4 separate regions of the Homo sapiens genome follow, and all the other regions are linked to region 1. The links are contacts of gene promoters, found by promoter capture Hi-C in human tissues and cell types (Jung and others, 2019). All regions are on one chromosome and are shown on one strand. Each heading gives the region's core, a stretch centred on a gene start or on the middle of the fragment in contact. The rest is flanking DNA. Distances are from core to core; before and after follow the strand shown.

Evidence for each region. The method cuts DNA at HindIII sites, captures the fragments that hold promoters and counts their contacts. A contact is called where the count stands out against the background at its distance.
Region 2: a contact is called between a fragment that was not itself captured here and the fragment with the promoter of SCN2B in region 1, in 2 of the 25 tissues and cell types used here (bladder and dorsolateral prefrontal cortex).
Region 3: a fragment that was not itself captured here is called in contact with the fragment with the promoter of SCN2B in region 1 in 1 of the 25 tissues and cell types used here (liver).
Region 4: a contact is called between a fragment that was not itself captured here and the fragment with the promoter of SCN2B in region 1, in 1 of the 25 tissues and cell types used here (spleen).

Annotation. Positions count from the first base shown.
Region 1 is chr11:118,174,438-118,178,564 of GRCh38, forward strand. SCN2B (sodium voltage-gated channel beta subunit 2) reads right to left here and starts at 2,202. Exons shown (of 4, transcript NM_004588.5): 1 at 1,925-2,202. The coding sequence starts at 1,994. The HindIII fragment of the contact is 9,424 bases long and covers 1,830-4,127 here.
Region 2 is chr11:118,381,658-118,385,784 of GRCh38, forward strand. UBE4A (ubiquitination factor E4A) reads left to right here. Exons shown (of 20, transcript NM_001204077.2): 13 at 932-1,119; 14 at 2,978-3,078; 15 at 3,175-3,288. The region is part of intron 3 of LOC100131626 (a long non-coding RNA gene); the gene reads right to left. Among named protein-coding and RNA genes, the nearest start is that of ATP5MG, 18 kb to the right of the region's middle. The HindIII fragment of the contact is 4,714 bases long and covers 1-4,127 here.
Region 3 is chr11:117,977,744-117,981,870 of GRCh38, forward strand. No RefSeq gene overlaps it. Among named protein-coding and RNA genes, the nearest start is that of IL10RA, 6.6 kb to the right of the region's middle. The HindIII fragment of the contact is 4,071 bases long and covers 1-3,832 here.
Region 4 is chr11:118,307,785-118,311,911 of GRCh38, forward strand. CD3E (CD3 epsilon subunit of T-cell receptor complex) reads left to right here. Exons shown (of 9, transcript NM_000733.4): 4 at 643-657. Among named protein-coding and RNA genes, the nearest start is that of CD3E, 5.1 kb to the left of the region's middle. The HindIII fragment of the contact is 5,427 bases long and covers 59-4,127 here.

The DNA.
Region 1 (4,127 bases), core at 952-3,451:
TCATCCCCACAAGCCCAGCCCCGACAGAGTCCCCTCCCTCGTCACTTGTGGCATCCTCCATCCTGGGGATCGATGCTACTGCAACACCACCAAAGTTCCACTGTCAACTCGGCCCTCAGCATTGGAGTGCCAGGGACATGCCTCATTACAGCACCAATCAAGTTCAAGTTCAAGGTCCCCATTCCTGCATCCTCTCCCACTCAGCTTTGCAGAAGCTTTAGCTTCCTCCCACTACCATCTCCCCACCCCAAACACTCAGACCTCTTCATCGCAGACTCCCTCTTCCTCACCCTAGCCCAGAGCTCTGGGTCCTGGTCACTGAGCCCCCTTTCTATCTTTACTTAGCCATGGCTCTCACCAGGCGGCTTCTCTCCTGCACGAAGTGCTTCCTAACTCCTGAGGAAAGGGTCCTGTCCTCCAGCTGGGCCTCCTTACAACAGGCCACTCACCCAACTCCCCTTCTTTCAGCCTGTCCTGAGACTCTGATCAATTAGGTACTGTTAATATAGCAGTGCCATTTCTTGAACATTGGGGAGTGGAATCCAACGTTTAAGAGAATGTGCTGAAGTCAGACACAGGGAGTTCAAATTTCAGCTCCCGTTACCATAGTCATCTGTTTCCTCCCTGTAACCTGAGTATAATAGAATCTACCTCCGATTGCTGTGAGGGCTAAACAAGATACACAGTGCCTGGGCTCACGAAAAGCATTCTTATGTTAGCCATCGTTGAGTTCCTGCCATGCACCAAATCACAAACACGTCAGGCAGTAGGCATTCTTTAGTTTACCCGGGAGGGAACTGAAGCTCAGAGGGGTTGAGTAACTTGCCTGTGATCATTACGTAAATGACAAAGGTGGCTTGAAACCCAGGTCCTGCCAGAGATTCCATAGCATTCCTGCTCTGATGTTAATATGCCAAGTAACTCAGCAAAGCAGGCTGGCAGGGCCTCTGCACTGTCTGTGTTTAGCACTCCTACTCCAAACCCAGCACATCACACCACAGAAAGAGAGAGAGCCTTTGTGGTGGGGAATAGTTCCATCAACAGTCCTTGGACTTGACTCTCAGTTGCTGCTCCAGCAATAAGTAAGTTTAGGAGCAAGAATGAAACTCTACAAAGCAGGCTTGCAAATAACTTTCTAGCCCACTTCCCCACCAGGAAGTCTCTGAGTGGTCAAATACAAACACTTGACAGGACAGTCTGCAAGACTGGGCTGGGCAGTTCTGAGGCTGGATTTAAAGGGCTGCAACCTCGCTCAGCCTGTGGGTTCCATTTTTTTCCTGAATCTCTACACCTGGCCCTTCCTCCATTCCATCCGGCCCAAGCCAAAGGTGCCTTCTCCATCAGTGCGTGCCTCAGCAGGTCTCCTCCCAACCCAGACATCATTCCCCAAGCCCGCTTCCCACCTACTCCCACACACGTTCCAACAGATCAGTGAGACCGAGTGCCAAGAAGCCAGACCCAGACTCAACTTTCTGCCACCAGCTCCCCTGCACACTCTCCTAATACCCTAAATCCACCAGGATCAAGCTTCTGAAAAGAAGCCCCTTAAGGGAGCATTAAGTCCCAGGACCCCGCATTTGCAGCAACTCCAAAAAATAATCCCTGAAGAGACTGCAGGTCAATCCACTCTCTGCCCCACCGCCACGTAGGTCCACTTAGGGGAAATCCAGAGAAGATTCACCTCCCTTGACAATTGTCAGCCCCCAGCAACACTCAGATCCCCTGACCCAACATTTCTGTGACTAAGTAGTCCCAGGGTTCTGCACTCCCCAGCAACGTCCCTTCCAGTCCCCAGCACCTCCCCTCCCAAGGACACAGAGGGAAAGCGCTAGCAATGTCTTCTTTCCTATCCCCTGCCCCCATCCTCTTCACATTGCGGCTACACTTCTGAACCCTCGGGAGCATGCAGATGTGTCTAACTTACCCAAAGAGAAAAAGAGACTGAGCCCCGTGAGGCTGAAGGCAGGGCGAGGTAGCCAGGCATCTCTGTGCATTTTCAGAGACTGAGATGTTAGTCGGGTGGGCTACGGGAGAGGGTGATTTGAGGGGGCGAGAACTACAAGGGAGGAATGGTTGGATGCTAAAAAAAAATGCACGGATGTACTTCAAAGACATATACAACATTAAGGAAGCTTTATTTCCATCTCTCTAATATGGCCGGCTTGTATGTTGCTGCTAAAAAGAGAGAGAGAGGGAGTGTGTAAAGGAGAGAGAGAGAGATGGGGGGGAGAGAAAAGGGGGATGGGGTAAATATTGTGGTTGGTGGATTTCAAAAAGCAGGTGGGAGGGCATAAAAAAGTCATTTTGAAAAGAACAAAATCCCAGAAATTTTTACCCTCTAAAACAAGAAATAATACAAACCCTGCTTTTTGACTTCACTGGGATGATTGTTGGATTTTGAAAGCTATTAGAGGAATCCATTTATTTTAAAGATTCTGGAAAGGGAAACACCTTTTATCATTTAAAAACACCCCCAGGCTGACGCAGTGGCTCACACCTGTAATTCCAGCACTTTGGGAGGCCGGATGGATTGCTTGAGTCCAGGAGTTCAAGACCAGCCTGGGCAACATGGCAAAACCCATCTCTACTAAAAATACAAAATTTAGCCAGGCATAATGTCGCATGCCTCTTGTCCCAGCTACTGCACCGCACTCCAGCCTGGGCCCTGCCTCCAGAGGGAAAAAAAAAAAAAAAACCTAAAAAAAAAAAGGAGATGCTTGTTTTTGTGTTATTGAAAAGGGTTCAGGAAAGTGAGTTGGAGAGACTTTCAAGGGGTAATGCTTTCCTCATTCTAGCGTTTCCTCTGAAAACAGAACATGTTGAAGCAGGCTGATAGAAAAATACCCAAGAGATCTTACAATTGAATGTAACACAGGCCTTTGGATAAACCTGATTCAAACAAATCAACAGGAAAGAAAAGTTTTTGAGACAATTGGGAAAAGTTAAATATGAACTACATAGTAGATTGTATTAATGAATCATTCTTAATTTTGTTGGGTCTGATAAAATGTGGTTTTGTCCTTTAACATCTCTATCTGTTAAAGACACACATGGGTGGCCGGGCGGGGTGGCTCACACCTGTAATCCCAGCACTTTGGGAGGCCGAGGCAGGCAGATCACCTGAGGTCAGGAGTTCGAGACCAGCCTCCCTAACATGGTGAAACCCTGTCTCTACTAAAAATACAAAAGTTAGCCGGGTGTGGTGGCGTGTGCCTGTAATCCCAGCTACTTGGGGGGACTGAGGCAGGAGAATTGCTTGAACCTGGGAGGCGGAGGTTGCAGTGAGTCGAGATCACTCCGCTACATCCCAGCCTGGGCCACAGAGTGAGACTCCATCTCAAAAATACATATATATATATTCAACGAAAAAAAGAGATGGGAGAATAGGTGACACGAGACTAGTTGTTTTGCTTGATAATTGAAACTAGCTGGTGATGGGTGTAAAGGGTTTGTCATATAGTTCTCTCTTCTTTTGTGTATGTTTAAAACTTTTCTTTTGAAGAAGGAAGAAAAAATAAGCTAACGTCATAAGTAGGAGAACTTGGTGGGTGGAGTCCAAGGTGGTCCTAAGCAGAGGTGACCCCCATACTCCTGGGGAGATGGTTAAGTAGGGCAGAGATTCGCATGCAGCAGTCACCTGCATTTGTGATGGGCCCTTTGTGTACCAAACAGGGAGCAACTAATATTTTTGAGCATAAACTCTGTGCCAAGCACTTTACATGTGATATCTCAATTTTTTATTTTTTTATTTTATTATTTTTTTTTAGACAGGGTCTCGCTCTGTCACCCAGGCTGCAGTGCAGTGGTGCAATCTCAGCTCACTGCAATCTCTGCCTTCTGGGTTCAAGCAATTCCTGTGTCTCAGCCTCAAGAGTAGCTGGAACTACATGCACGTGCCACCACCCCCAGCTAATTTTTTTGTATTTTTAGTAGAGGCAGGGTTTCACCATGTTGGCCAGGCTGGTCTCGAACTCCTGACCTCAAGTGTTCCACCTGCATCAGCCTCCCAAAGTGCTGGGAGTACAAGCGTGAGCCACCATGCTCAGCCTGTGGTATCTCAGTTTAATCTTTTCTTTTTTTGTGTGTGAGATGGAGTCCCGCTCTCTCTCCCAGGCTGGAGTGCAGTG
Region 2 (4,127 bases), core at 666-3,165, 210 kb after region 1:
GACCATCCATATGGGTAGCCAGAAATCCCACTGTTGAGAGGTATAATAAACAAAGGACTTTGTCCACAGAGAATTTAATCCTGCATATAAGTATCTTATGGGAAGTCCACTGCCAGTCCCTGGTTAAAGTAGTTAACCTAATGCCAGAAACTTAACAGTGGCAGCCAGGTGCTAATGATCTTCTAATAATTATATGATAATAAAGCTTATTCTTGCTATTCTGAGTTGGATGAGCAGTAAACTTAAGTCAATGTTATTTCTCATTTCAAGTTTTCTCACTCATAGCTTCTAGTCCTCTTTTCCAAAGGAAGATACTGTGACTTGTAGAATTGCTTCCCTGATTTTTTTGATGCATAGGCTAAAGGAAGTGGAAACTCTGTGTACAAAAGTGAAGATTTGCTGCACAATGAAGAGAATGACCCACAATTCCCTGAGCCGTATCAGTGATAAGTAGAGAGAAGCCATTTCTTCACTGAGCTGAGCATACCTAATGAGAAGTCATAAGTCAACAAGTATTATGCATACACTGTATGCGTCATGGGTAATGTAGCATAATTATATTCTAGTCTTTACCCTCAGAAAGCTTGAAAAGGCAAGTTTATTCCACATGAAACTGTCAGAGAATAGGAAGCAGTAAATAATGCATTATTACAGAGAAGTAAACAATGGCTAAGCATTCAATAGAAACTTAAGTGCTCACCGTCATATTTGGTAAGCTGTCAACTCAAGAGTTAAATGATGTACCCTGCATCACCACCCCACCCCCCGCCCAGCCGCACCAAGAAACTGACAAACTTAAAACTGCAGAAGTGGATCCTTTTTTTTCCTGTAATATGGTTTAGGGTGGATTTTGATTCTTATGTGGAGAGAACAGAGTCATAAATTTGGAGTTAAGCTTATCTGCTCATCTTGCTTTTTGCCCATTTTGCAGAATGAAGAATCCCCACCTGAGGGCCAAACTAGCAGAGGTGTTGGAAGCAGTGATGCCCCACCTGGATCAGACCCCAAATCCCTTGGTATCCAGTGTGTTCCACCGGAAACGTGTGTTCTGCAACTTTCAGTATGCACCCCAACTTGCAGAGGCTCTAATCAAGGTTTTTGTGGACATCGAATTTACAGGTAAAGCAGTCATGAAGCTGAGCCCAGAACTGGGAAGCTGATACCAGTGGAGTTTCATAGTTTGATCCGTATTTGGATATCAAAGAAATGTCAAGCCATTACTTATTGAATACCTACTATATGCCAGGCTTGATGATAAGTGCTTTTTTTTTTTTTTTAACATTATCCCATTGTCACCATTGGAAAAGTTTCACTCTATTATCCCTGTTTTATTTATTTTTTATTTTTTAATTATTCTTGTTTTACATATGAAGACATGACTGCCCAAAAGATCAGTTTGTCCATGTCATAACAAACTACCAAGTGGTAGAATCAGGTCTGTGTCACCTAAAGAAATCTACATATTCAACACCCTTATTATGTTGCATCATCAAATCAGACTCAAATTAGACTATTTGGGTCTTTATATTTCTCTGCCTTAAAATTACAGAATAGTGCATAAAGAGGCAGTGTATTGGTTGAGAGATTCTTTTATCTTAACCAGACTATCTAACTCTCCAACAGTCTAATGGTTCGATTAAAAATACCAGCAGGCGGACAGGCACAGTGGCTCATGCTTGTAATCCCAGCGTTTTGGGAGGCCAAAGTAGGCAGATCACTTGAGCTCCTGAGTTTGAGACCAGCCTGGCCAACATGGTGAAACCCATTCTCTACAAAAATACAAAAATTACCCAGGCATGGTGGCAGGTGCCTGTAATCCCAGCTACTTAGGAGGCAGAGGCACGAGAATTGCTTGAATTCGGGAGGCAGAGGTGGCAGTGAGCTGAGATCGCACCACTCCAGCCTGGATGACAGAGCAAGAAATCCCTCTCAAAAAAAAAAAAAAAAAAAAAAAACCAGCAGGCAACATTCCCTCTCTATCTAACCCTGAGCCCCTGTGTTTGTTTAAACAGTACCCTGTCTCAATCAGTAAATAAGATATGTTAAGAAGTTGTTGAAGACCATTTTTTAAAGGGATATCTACCATCCAATGATAAATACAACTAACATTTAAAGAGGCATTTAACATTTTACTGGCCGCCTTTCCATATTTGGATTCTGGTTTTTTTTAATTCGCTCACCTATCAACCTTAGTTTCCTCATCTATAAAATGGGTCAAAGTGATGATTAAGTGAAATAATGCATGTAAATCTTTATAATACATAAGAAATTGTATAATAAATCATTGCAGTTATCTCGTTATGTGACCATACAACCAAAGTGTTGTAATGGAGTACAATTTCTGTTTTATTTCTGAGGAAGTGGAAGCTGAAGAAGATTAAGAGACTTAGATTAAGCAGAGCCAGAATGAAAACGTAGGTCTTTTGACTCCAAATCCTACACTCTTCCTTTATTATGACCCAGCCTGTGGAGCTCTAGTAATACCTTTGGTATTTCAAAAGCAGTATAAGCCTCAGATTTTTAGCTCCTGACCTGATTTTTCAGAGTAATCAAGAACCTGTTGGCTACACAGTTTGGGATATTGTCTGTGAAGAATGTGGGAATTGCTTAGTGTCCCGTCCTGCACATGGCTTTCACTGCCATAATGGCCAGCCCTGAGCCCTCATTTAAAGCCTGAGAAGTACTCATGTTTGGATATGGAAACATTTGTTTCCCTTAACTTTTATTTTACAGCTTGGTACTTGTCTCTTGCAGAGTAAGGTATCCTTTATCTCTGTCTCCCCCTTACTTCATCAGTAAGGAAATGAGCAAACACTTGGCGATAACTCTAGGCCTTTAGAAACTCCAGGGCAGATTTTGTTAGTAGCCTTAACACACTCAAAAGCAAATGACTACAAAGCAAATGGCTACACATAAGCATAAACTCTTCCTCTTATGGCACCGCCTTTGCTGATATTTCGCTCTTGCCTTACTCCAGGAGACCCCCATCAATTTGAACAGAAGTTTAATTACCGCCGTCCCATGTATCCTATCCTAAGATACATGTGGGGGACAGATACCTATCGGGAGAGCATTAAGGTGAGAGAGTTTTTGATGAAACCTGTTGCTTTATATAAGCCCTAATGAGTTGTAATTCAGTACTAAAATGGTTTTCTTGTGGGCTGGGACTTACAGGATTTGGCTGACTATGCCTCTAAGAATTTAGAAGCCATGAATCCCCCACTTTTCCTCCGCTTTCTTAACCTGCTAATGAATGATGCCATCTTCCTTTTGGATGAAGCCATACAGGTAAAAAAAAAAAAAAAAAAAAAGATTTAACTTCTCCATACCATCAAATCATCAGCAGTACATACATTTTACCTTTTAATCATAATAGAGCAGTCCTTATGCCCCTAGTACCAGACTTGAACACCAAAAATTTGTGATTAGTAGTGTACCACCAAGCTTGTCATTATAGAGCTTTCTAGTTCATTCCATTAGAGACCAAGATCAAGGGTCATTGAAGCATCATGAGATGGACATTTTGGCAGAGTCAAAAATACCATATGGTGAAGCCAAACTAAGTTGTACTGGCAGGAGTAATTCATCAGGCCAGCACTACAGAAAGAAATCAGAGGAGCTTGCTTTTGGTCAGTGACTTTCAACCCTTTTAATCCCAACATGTCAGTAAAATATCTCACTAAGACAGTGATTTTTAACCCACTTTCCTAAAAGATTCTGATTTTTGCACCACTACTTGAAAGAAAATCTCTGATTTGGGTTATTTTTTCATATAAAGGCTCCAAGTTGTCAATACTTCTCATATTTCCACTGCCTTCTAAATTCTTAGCTATATGGTGAAACAAAGGTTTCACAAAGTATAAAATGCAGCTGGGTGCCTCTCAGCTCCTTCAGTGTATTATTTCCTTAACCTTCCCTGGTGGAACTGCTTACTTCTCCCATAAAAACTTGGCTGTCTGTAGAGCAAAACTTCCCTTACCTGTGATGGGTATAGGATGGACAAGGCACTGACCTAAAGGGAGATGAAGCAGGTAAATCCTGAGGGTAGCCTTTAGACAGTCATGAGCTCCTCCTTATGATCAGCAATCCCCTGAGTAGCTTGTGTTTAATTTGTGAGAAAGGTTTGA
Region 3 (4,127 bases), core at 547-3,046, 200 kb before region 1:
CTTTTAAGGTGGCGCGTCTGGAGTCTGTCCCTTTTGATGCTCAGATGTGTTCGGAGTTTCTTCCTTCTGATGGGTTCGTGGTCTCGCTGGCTCAGGAGTGAAGCTGCAGAGCTTTGCGGAGAGTGTTACAGCTCTTAAGGCAGCGCATCTGGAGTTGTTCGTTCCTCCTGGTGGGCTTGTGGTCTCACTGGGCTCAGGAGTGAAGCTGCAGATCTTCGCGGTGTTACAGCTCATAAAAGCAGCGCGGACCCAAAGAGTCAGCAGTAGCAAGACTTATTGCAAAGAGCGAAAGAACAAAGCTTCCACAGGGTGGAAGGGGACCCGAGCGGGTTGCCAACGCTGGCTCGGGCAGCCTGCTTTTATTCTCTTATCTGGCCCCACCCACATCCTGCTGATGGGTAGAGCCAAGTGGCCTGTTTTGACAGGGTGCTGATTGGTAAATTTACAATCCCTGAGCTAGATACAAATGTTCTTCACGTCCCCATCAGATTAGTTAGATACAGAGTATGGACACAAAGGTTCTCCAAGGCCCCACCAGAGCAGCTAGATACAGAGTGTCGATTGGTGCACTCACAAACCTTGAGCTAAACACAGGGGTGCTGATTGGTGTGTTTACAAACCTTGAGCTAAACATAAAGACTCTCCGCGTCCCCACCAGACTCAGGAGCCCAGCTGGCTTCACCTAATGGATCCCGCACCGGGGCTTCAGGTGGAGCTGCCTGCCAGTCCTGCGCCGTGCGCTCGCATTCCTCAGCCCTTGGGTGGTCGATGGGACTGGGCGCCTTGGAGCAGGGGGTGGTGCTCCACGGGGAGGCTCGGGCCTCAGAGGAGCCCATGGAGTGGGTGGGTGGCTCAGGCATGGCGGGCTGCAGGTCCCGAGCCCTGCCCCGCGGGAAGGCAGCTAAGGCCCGGCAAGAAATCGAGCACAGCGCCGGTGGGCCGGCACTGCTGGGGGACCCAGTACACCCTCCGCAGCCACTGGCCCGGGTGCTAAGTCCCTCATTGCCCGGGGCCAGCAGGGCTGGCTGGCTGTTCCGAGTGCGGGGCCCGCCAAGCCCACGCCCACCCGGAACTCCAGCTGGCCCGCAAGCGCCGCACGCAGCCCCGGTTGCCGCTGGAGCCTCTCCCTCCACACCTCCCTGCAAGCTGAGGGAGTGGGCTCCAGCCTTGGCCAACCCAGAAAGGGGCTCCCACAGTGCAGTGGGGGGGCTGAAGGGCTCCTCAAATGCCGCCAAAGTGGGAGCCCAGGCAGGGGAGGTGCCGAGAGCAAGCGAGGGCTCTGAGGACTGCCAGCAGGCTGTCACCTCTCACTCTCACTTGAGAAGCCATTATCAGTTACCAGAACACTTTGTGTCTGGCTTTACAACAGCCCAGATTCCAATCTTGCCAACAGCTAATAGAGCCAAAGGGACCGGTTCCAGGGTGCACGACTGGTAGTGACCAAGCTGGGGCTAGAAGTAGGTCTGTTGGTTTTGAGGTAACCAGGCTCCTCCCACCTAAGGCAATGACCAAGAACAGTGTCCCAGGCAGATTATAGGAATGAGAAGGCTCTTAGCCCCAGCTCTGCTGATTTAAAGTAATTAGCATGGGCATTCCTTCACCTGGGAGATCAGTACTTCTTCCCCTTCCCCCTAAACTGATGGGCATGACAACCTCACGCAGTCTTCACAGTTCCACAAACTTAGCTGCTATGGTTTGAGAGCCAGAGAGTTGAGCTTCGATCTGGAGACCAAAGTTTTAATTCTGTCACTAACTAGTGAGTTACCCTGGCTACTCACCTTCATGCTCTAGATTTCCTCTTCTATTTAAAATGCAAATCTGCCATATCCCTCTCCTGCCTAAAACCCTTCACTGATGCCTTTCACCCACCCAGCTAAAGTTCTAGGAACTCCCCATTCAAGCCTGAGCCACCACACAGAGTCGAGAGGAATGTTGAGAATGGGGTTTTGTCCCTTCTGAGCTCTTTGGTGCTCCTCCAGGGGGGAGCCAGGGAGAAGGTGAAGGGATGTGGACACTCATTAGGTTTGGCAACTGGAGACTTCTCCCAGGGCCGTTGCTGGGGCTGGGCGAGCCCCTCACTGTGCATCTGCAATTCTCCTGGACCCAACAACTACCAAGTTTCCTACCCACACAGTTTCCTTCTCTGTGTCTCCTTCTTACGGTCAGTTCCCTCTGTGTCTCTCTCCTTGTTATGTGCAGCTCTGACACAGTGATCACAAGTCCTGGAACTTCCCTACTCACCAGTTGAGGGACAGAAACTGCAAGTTACGCTTGTTAGCACACTCAAGCACAGACTTCCTGCCAACTCAGATGCCCATCCGACTCCCCAGGCATGCCCATTTAACAGCATCATCCTGAGCACCAAGATAAAGTCAAATGAAAATGAGACAATGGAACCACCCAGAGCCCAAAATCTGCCCTCAAAATTTCCCAGGGTAACCCTAGGGGCCAGATGTTCACGCAGCAGGTTCCCTGGTTCCCTGGGCTAGCCACGTCCCTCTACCATCTACAAGACTCTCAGCCCTCAGCTGTTCCTCCTCTCTTGCCCTCCCCCTTGTCTTTTTCTCCAACCCCGTTCTCTCTTTCTCTCAATCACTTGACATTTGTCTCTTGCAAGAATTCTTCCAAGATTCAGAAGGGCACTGTTCACATGGTAGTAAAAGCATGAGCTCTGGAGTCAAACAGACCAGTTGAACAGGCTTCTAGCTCTGCTACGTACTGAGTGAATGACATGGGCAAGTGACTCAGTCTCTCACCTCATTTTCCCATCTGTAAAACACTGATAATGATGCTTATCTCACTGAGTGTTTATAAGGATTAAATGAAATAAGGTTTGCAGATTATTCAGGGTAGTTAACACTAGCTGCTATGAAAAAAACTTCACAAAATCTCAGTGGCTTGAGAGGGTTTACTCCTCACCCAATCAATAGGCTGATGCAAACTGGGTGTCTTTTCTGCACAGCTGCCCTCCAAGAGGTGATTCAGGGGCCCAAGCTCCCTCTATTCCCTTGGAGTCCTCCACTGGACACCTCCAGATGGCTGGCAGAATAGCAAAGACAGAGTTAGCAGCCAGGCCTGGAAGTGGCACCCATCAACTCAACTTTACAGTGCTTAAAAGCCAGCCACATATTCTACTTAACTGCAAGGGGGACTGGGAAATATAGTTGCCCCATGTGCCCAGGAAGAGGAACTGGTATTACTAAGCATCTGGCCATTCTCTGCCACAACATGTGAAGTATTTCACATAGTGCCCGATAGGTCATAAAAACTCAATAAATATTAATAGAAGATATGGCCAGGTGTGGTGGCTCACGCCTGTAATCCTAGCACTTTGGGAGGCTAAGGCAGGAGGATCGTTTGAGCCTAGGAGTTCCAAACCAGCCTGGGCAACATGGTGAAATGTCATCTCTACCAAAAAAAATAAAATAAAATAAATTACCTGGGCATGGTGGCCTGCACCTGTAGTCCCAGCTACTCAGGAGGCTGAGGTGGGAGGATCACTTGAGCCTGGGAAGTAGAGGCTGCAGTGAGCCAAGATCAAGCCACTGCACTCCAGCCTGGGTGACAGAGTGAAACCTTGTCTCAATAAATAAATAAATAAATAAAAATTAAGAAAAAATTTAAAAAGAGAAGATCCTTTAATGATTGCCTCCTATCATATGTCTCTCTACTGGTGTGAATACCAGAATACACAGAACTTTAGGGTGGACTTTTCAGAACACTGAAAACAAAACAAAATAAACATGTGGATTCCGTGTTTCTTTTTCTTCCTTTTCAAGTATAGTAATCACATGCCTGACGTAACTCCTATTCTGGGTGCTCTCCATGAGGCAGCAGGATACATTGGAATAGCCTGCATTCAAATCCTGGCTCTGCCCTGAGCTAGGTATTAACCTATGTTAGCCACTGTGGTTTTCTCATCTTAAAACAAGAGTGCCAGTTTACCCACTTTCCAGGGTTCTTAAAAAATGCCATATTCCCTAATCTCCAAGTAAACACTTCCTTCTGTCTGGAATACCCTCCCTATCCACTCTTCATTAGCTACCTCCTATTCCTCCCTCAAGTCTCAACTTAGATGTCACCTCCTTCAGGAAGTTTTCCTTATCTTCTATCCCAAGTGTGGTTTA
Region 4 (4,127 bases), core at 1,522-4,021, 130 kb after region 1:
AACCACAGCGGTAGAGTCAGGAGTGTTCCAACATTGGAAGCCCCTCTATTCAATCAGCTCTTCCAAACTGAGTGAACCAATGTTGTATTTAATGGCAACCATGGCTGGACACCATGGCTCACACCTGTAATCCCAGCACTTTGGGAGGCCGAGGTGGGCAGATCACTTGAGGCCAGGAGTTCGAGACCAGCCTGGCCAACATGGCGAAACCCCGTCTCTACTAAAAATACCAAAATCAGCCAGACATGGTGGTGTACGCCTGTAGTCCTAGCTACTCGAGAAGCTGAGGCAGGAGAATCGCTTGAACCTGGGAGGCAGAGGTTGTAGTGAGCCGAGATCACACCACTGCACTCTAGCCTGGGTGACACATCGAGACTGTCTCAAAAATAAAATAAAGACAACCATTATGCCAGCCTAGATTCCGCCATGCTGCCTAATTTGTAGTGTCCTTAGGAGCCATTTTTGTAAATAGTCATCAGATAAGATGTAAGGCCCATAACAGCTTTTTCTATGCAGCTGAGGGAATTGGAAGATCCATTGTTTCCTAAGAGTTGAGGGAAGAGTCCCAACCCACGGGAGCAGGGTCTGATCTTCATTGCCGATAGAAACATTACTAATGGCTTCTTACTGTTTCCTTTTCAGGTAATGAAGAAATGGGTAAGAAGATTTCCACTCTATCTAGCAAAAGTTTTCAAATATGGAATGAAATGCTCATAGAGTACAATCACAGTAACAAACCCTGAGAACTAAAACTATTAAAGGGAAAATACAAGTATCTTTCAATGGGATCCGTATGAAACTTGCCTGTATTTGTTGCTAGCTGTCATGTCAGATTATAGCTGTGCATATATGTATCTCTGATCATACACATATGGATGTGGGTTGGAGCTACCATGTGTTTTTGTATAAGCCATGAAATCTTTGAAGGCAGACAGAGACAGTGTCTCATTTACCTAGCCCAGTGTCTGGCACATAGTAGGTGCTCAATGAATATTTTTTGAATGAATAAATGAACAAACATATGAACACATTGCTAATTACCTCCCCTCAAGAAGCTGATGGTCTTGTGTGAGAGACAAATAATTGAAAATATAGTGAGTTGCATGTTATAATATGGGTAGATACAGAGTAAAATGAAGTATAAAGAGGGGAGTGGTCAACTCTACTGAGTGTCGTTGGGAAAGGTTCCCTGGGGGAGGTGGTCCTTGAGCTGAATTTTAAAGGATAAGCTTATGTTTTAGGGAAGAAAAATATTTTATGCAGAAGAGATAAAGCTGTATAGTATGAGGATAAGAGTCTAACTGAGCTAGATCAGAATGTTTGAATCTTGGCTCAACTCTCTACTTGCTGGGTGTGTTTGAGTAATTTACCTAACTTTTCTGTGCCACAGCATCATCATGGTACAATGGAAATAATAGTGCTACCTAACTTGTAGGGTTATTATGAGGACCAAATGAGTAATTCATTTAAGGCACTTAGAACATTATCTGACATAAAAGGCAGTAGGAGGGCCGGGCATGGTGGCTCACACCTGTAATCCCAGCACTTTGAGAAGCCGAGGTGGGAGGATCACCTGAGGTCAGGAGTTCGAGACCGGCCTGGCCAACATGGTGAAACTCCATCTCTGCTAAAAATACAAAAATTAGCCAGGCATGGTGGCAGGTGCCTGTAATCTCAGCTACTCAGGAGGCTGAGGTAGGAGAATTGCTTGAACCTGGGAGGCGGAGGTTGGAGTGAGCTGAGATTGTGCCATTGCACTCCAGCCTGGGCGACAGAGCAAGACTCTGTCTCAAAACAAACAAACAAACAAACAGACAGTAGGTGAATTTTAGCTATTAATACATGGAAAGCATGCTGACTATAGATGATAAGCATTAAAGTTTACTGAGCATGTATGTTTTAGGCATTGCTCTAAATATTTTACTTGAATTTCCTCATTTAATTCTTCCAACACCCCTACTGTACAGTTAAGGAAACAAAGCCTCAAATAAATACAGAAATAAACAAAAATAAGTAAACAATCCAGTCCTGGGGATATAAATGCAGATTTAGGCCAAGTGCCATGGTTCATGCCTATAATCCCAACACTTTGGGAGGCCAAGGCAGGAGGCTCGCTTGAGCTCAGAAGGTTGAGGCTGCATTGAGCAAAGATTGTGCCACTGTACTCGAGCCTCTGTGGCAGAGAAAGACCCTGTCTCTGAAAAAATTAATAAATAGAAATTTAAAAATAAAAAAATTTTAATGCAGATTTATATGATACCGAAGTTCATTTTCTCAACCATTATGAAATACTGTTTCTGGATATGTATAAAATCTTTGTGAGCACACATATCTTTTTTTAACTTAACTTTCATTTTAAATTCAGGGGTACATGTGCAGGTTTGTTATATAGGTAAACTTGTGCCATGGGGGTTTGTTGTATAGATTATTTCATCACCCAGGCATTAAGCCTGGTACCTGTTAGTTATTTTTCCTGATCCTCTCCCTCCTCCCACCCTCCACCTTCTGAGAGGTCCCAGTGTGTGTCATTTCCCTCTGTGTTCATGTGTTCTCATCATTTAGCTCCCACTTCTAAATGAGAACATGTGGTATTTGGTTTTCTGTCACTGTGTTAGTTTGCTAAAGATAATGGCCTCCAGTCCCATCCATGTTCCTGCAAAGGACGTGATCTCATTCTTTTTTATGGCTGCGTAGTATTCCATGGTGTATATGCAGCACATTTTTTTATCCAGTCTACCACTGACAGGCATTTAGGTTGATTCCATGTCTTTGCTATTGTGAATAGTGCACAATGAACATACGTGGAGCACATTTCTGTCTAAGCACAGACATCTAGACCCTTGTGTGAGCATGAGTTAAGTCTAAGCTCTGCTACTGAATTTGTGCCAATAAAAGTTGTGAGCAATTTTCTTTACATTTTTTTCAAACAAACACACCCAGCAGAGTATAATGTCTATGTACTTTATTTATGATTTCTAGTTCATTTAACATGTCTAAGAAACATCCGTGTTGAAAAATTATTTATAAATTAAAATAATATAAACTATCTACTGTCCTTATACTCAACTCCCAATTATAAGCAGGTGGAAAAACCTGGAGAATGTTTTGTTTACATTCTGTGCAGTCTTTGTCAGAGGGCTGCCTGAGCAACTGGGTCAGAGTTTAGTTCTGCTCTGGGAGTAGCAGGACCTCAAGAAGGAAAGGAGGAAAGGAAGTAACTTTTTCTTGAGCACCTGCTATGTGTCATTCACTTTCACCTTCATAATCCATTTAATTTTCGCAAAAACTTTGTGAGGTTGGTGTTTTATCTCCATTTCCCTGATAAAGAAGTTGAGGTTCAGCAAAGTTAAATGACTTGCCCTCAGTCACACAGACTAGGGCAGATCCAGGATTCAAACTCAGGGCTTCTGACTCTTGAGTCCAGAGCTCTGTCCCTGACAGCAGCAGCACTGCCTCTCCTCTCTTCCAGCTGTTATGTCCAGACTGTAGCAGAACCCAGTGTTCCAGCCACAAGTTTTCCAGGAAATAATAAAGGACTCCTAGCTCCACCTCCCAGGGCAAAAATGGCTGCTGTGGGAAACACAGGCTGGACCTACGAATGGCATTAGTGGTTTATTAGTTGATTTCAGTTGTCCACACTAATAGGCCTCCCTCTAACAAAAATAATTGAGAGCTGATTATGCTCAGATATAATGTAAAGTGAAGCCACTTTTTATTGGAAGAAGCATTCCCTCAAAACGTGTAGAGTATTTCACATTATTTAAAGGCAAATAGAGAGAAAATTATATGGAATAAGAACAAAGATGTTTCTTCTCTATTATGAGGGACTCAGTTCTGAGAAAGGATTTTAAATTGTAAGAAATAGGTAAGTCCACGAATCAGTGATTCAGTGGTGTGGAGAGCTTTATTTCTGAGAAGGCCAGTAGCGCTCCCTTCTGACAAGCAAATCTAAGACCTGGATGACAGATGACTTCCTGCATTTGGTTGGTTCTTTTGTCATTCATATCTATCTGTAATACAGTTCTGGCTAATTTAAGAGGATAAGCTTGAAGACCTCTGGAATTTTTCGGCTTTAGGACTTTAAGGCTTTCTGAGCTTCAGTAGATCTAGATCTAGGAGCTCATGCT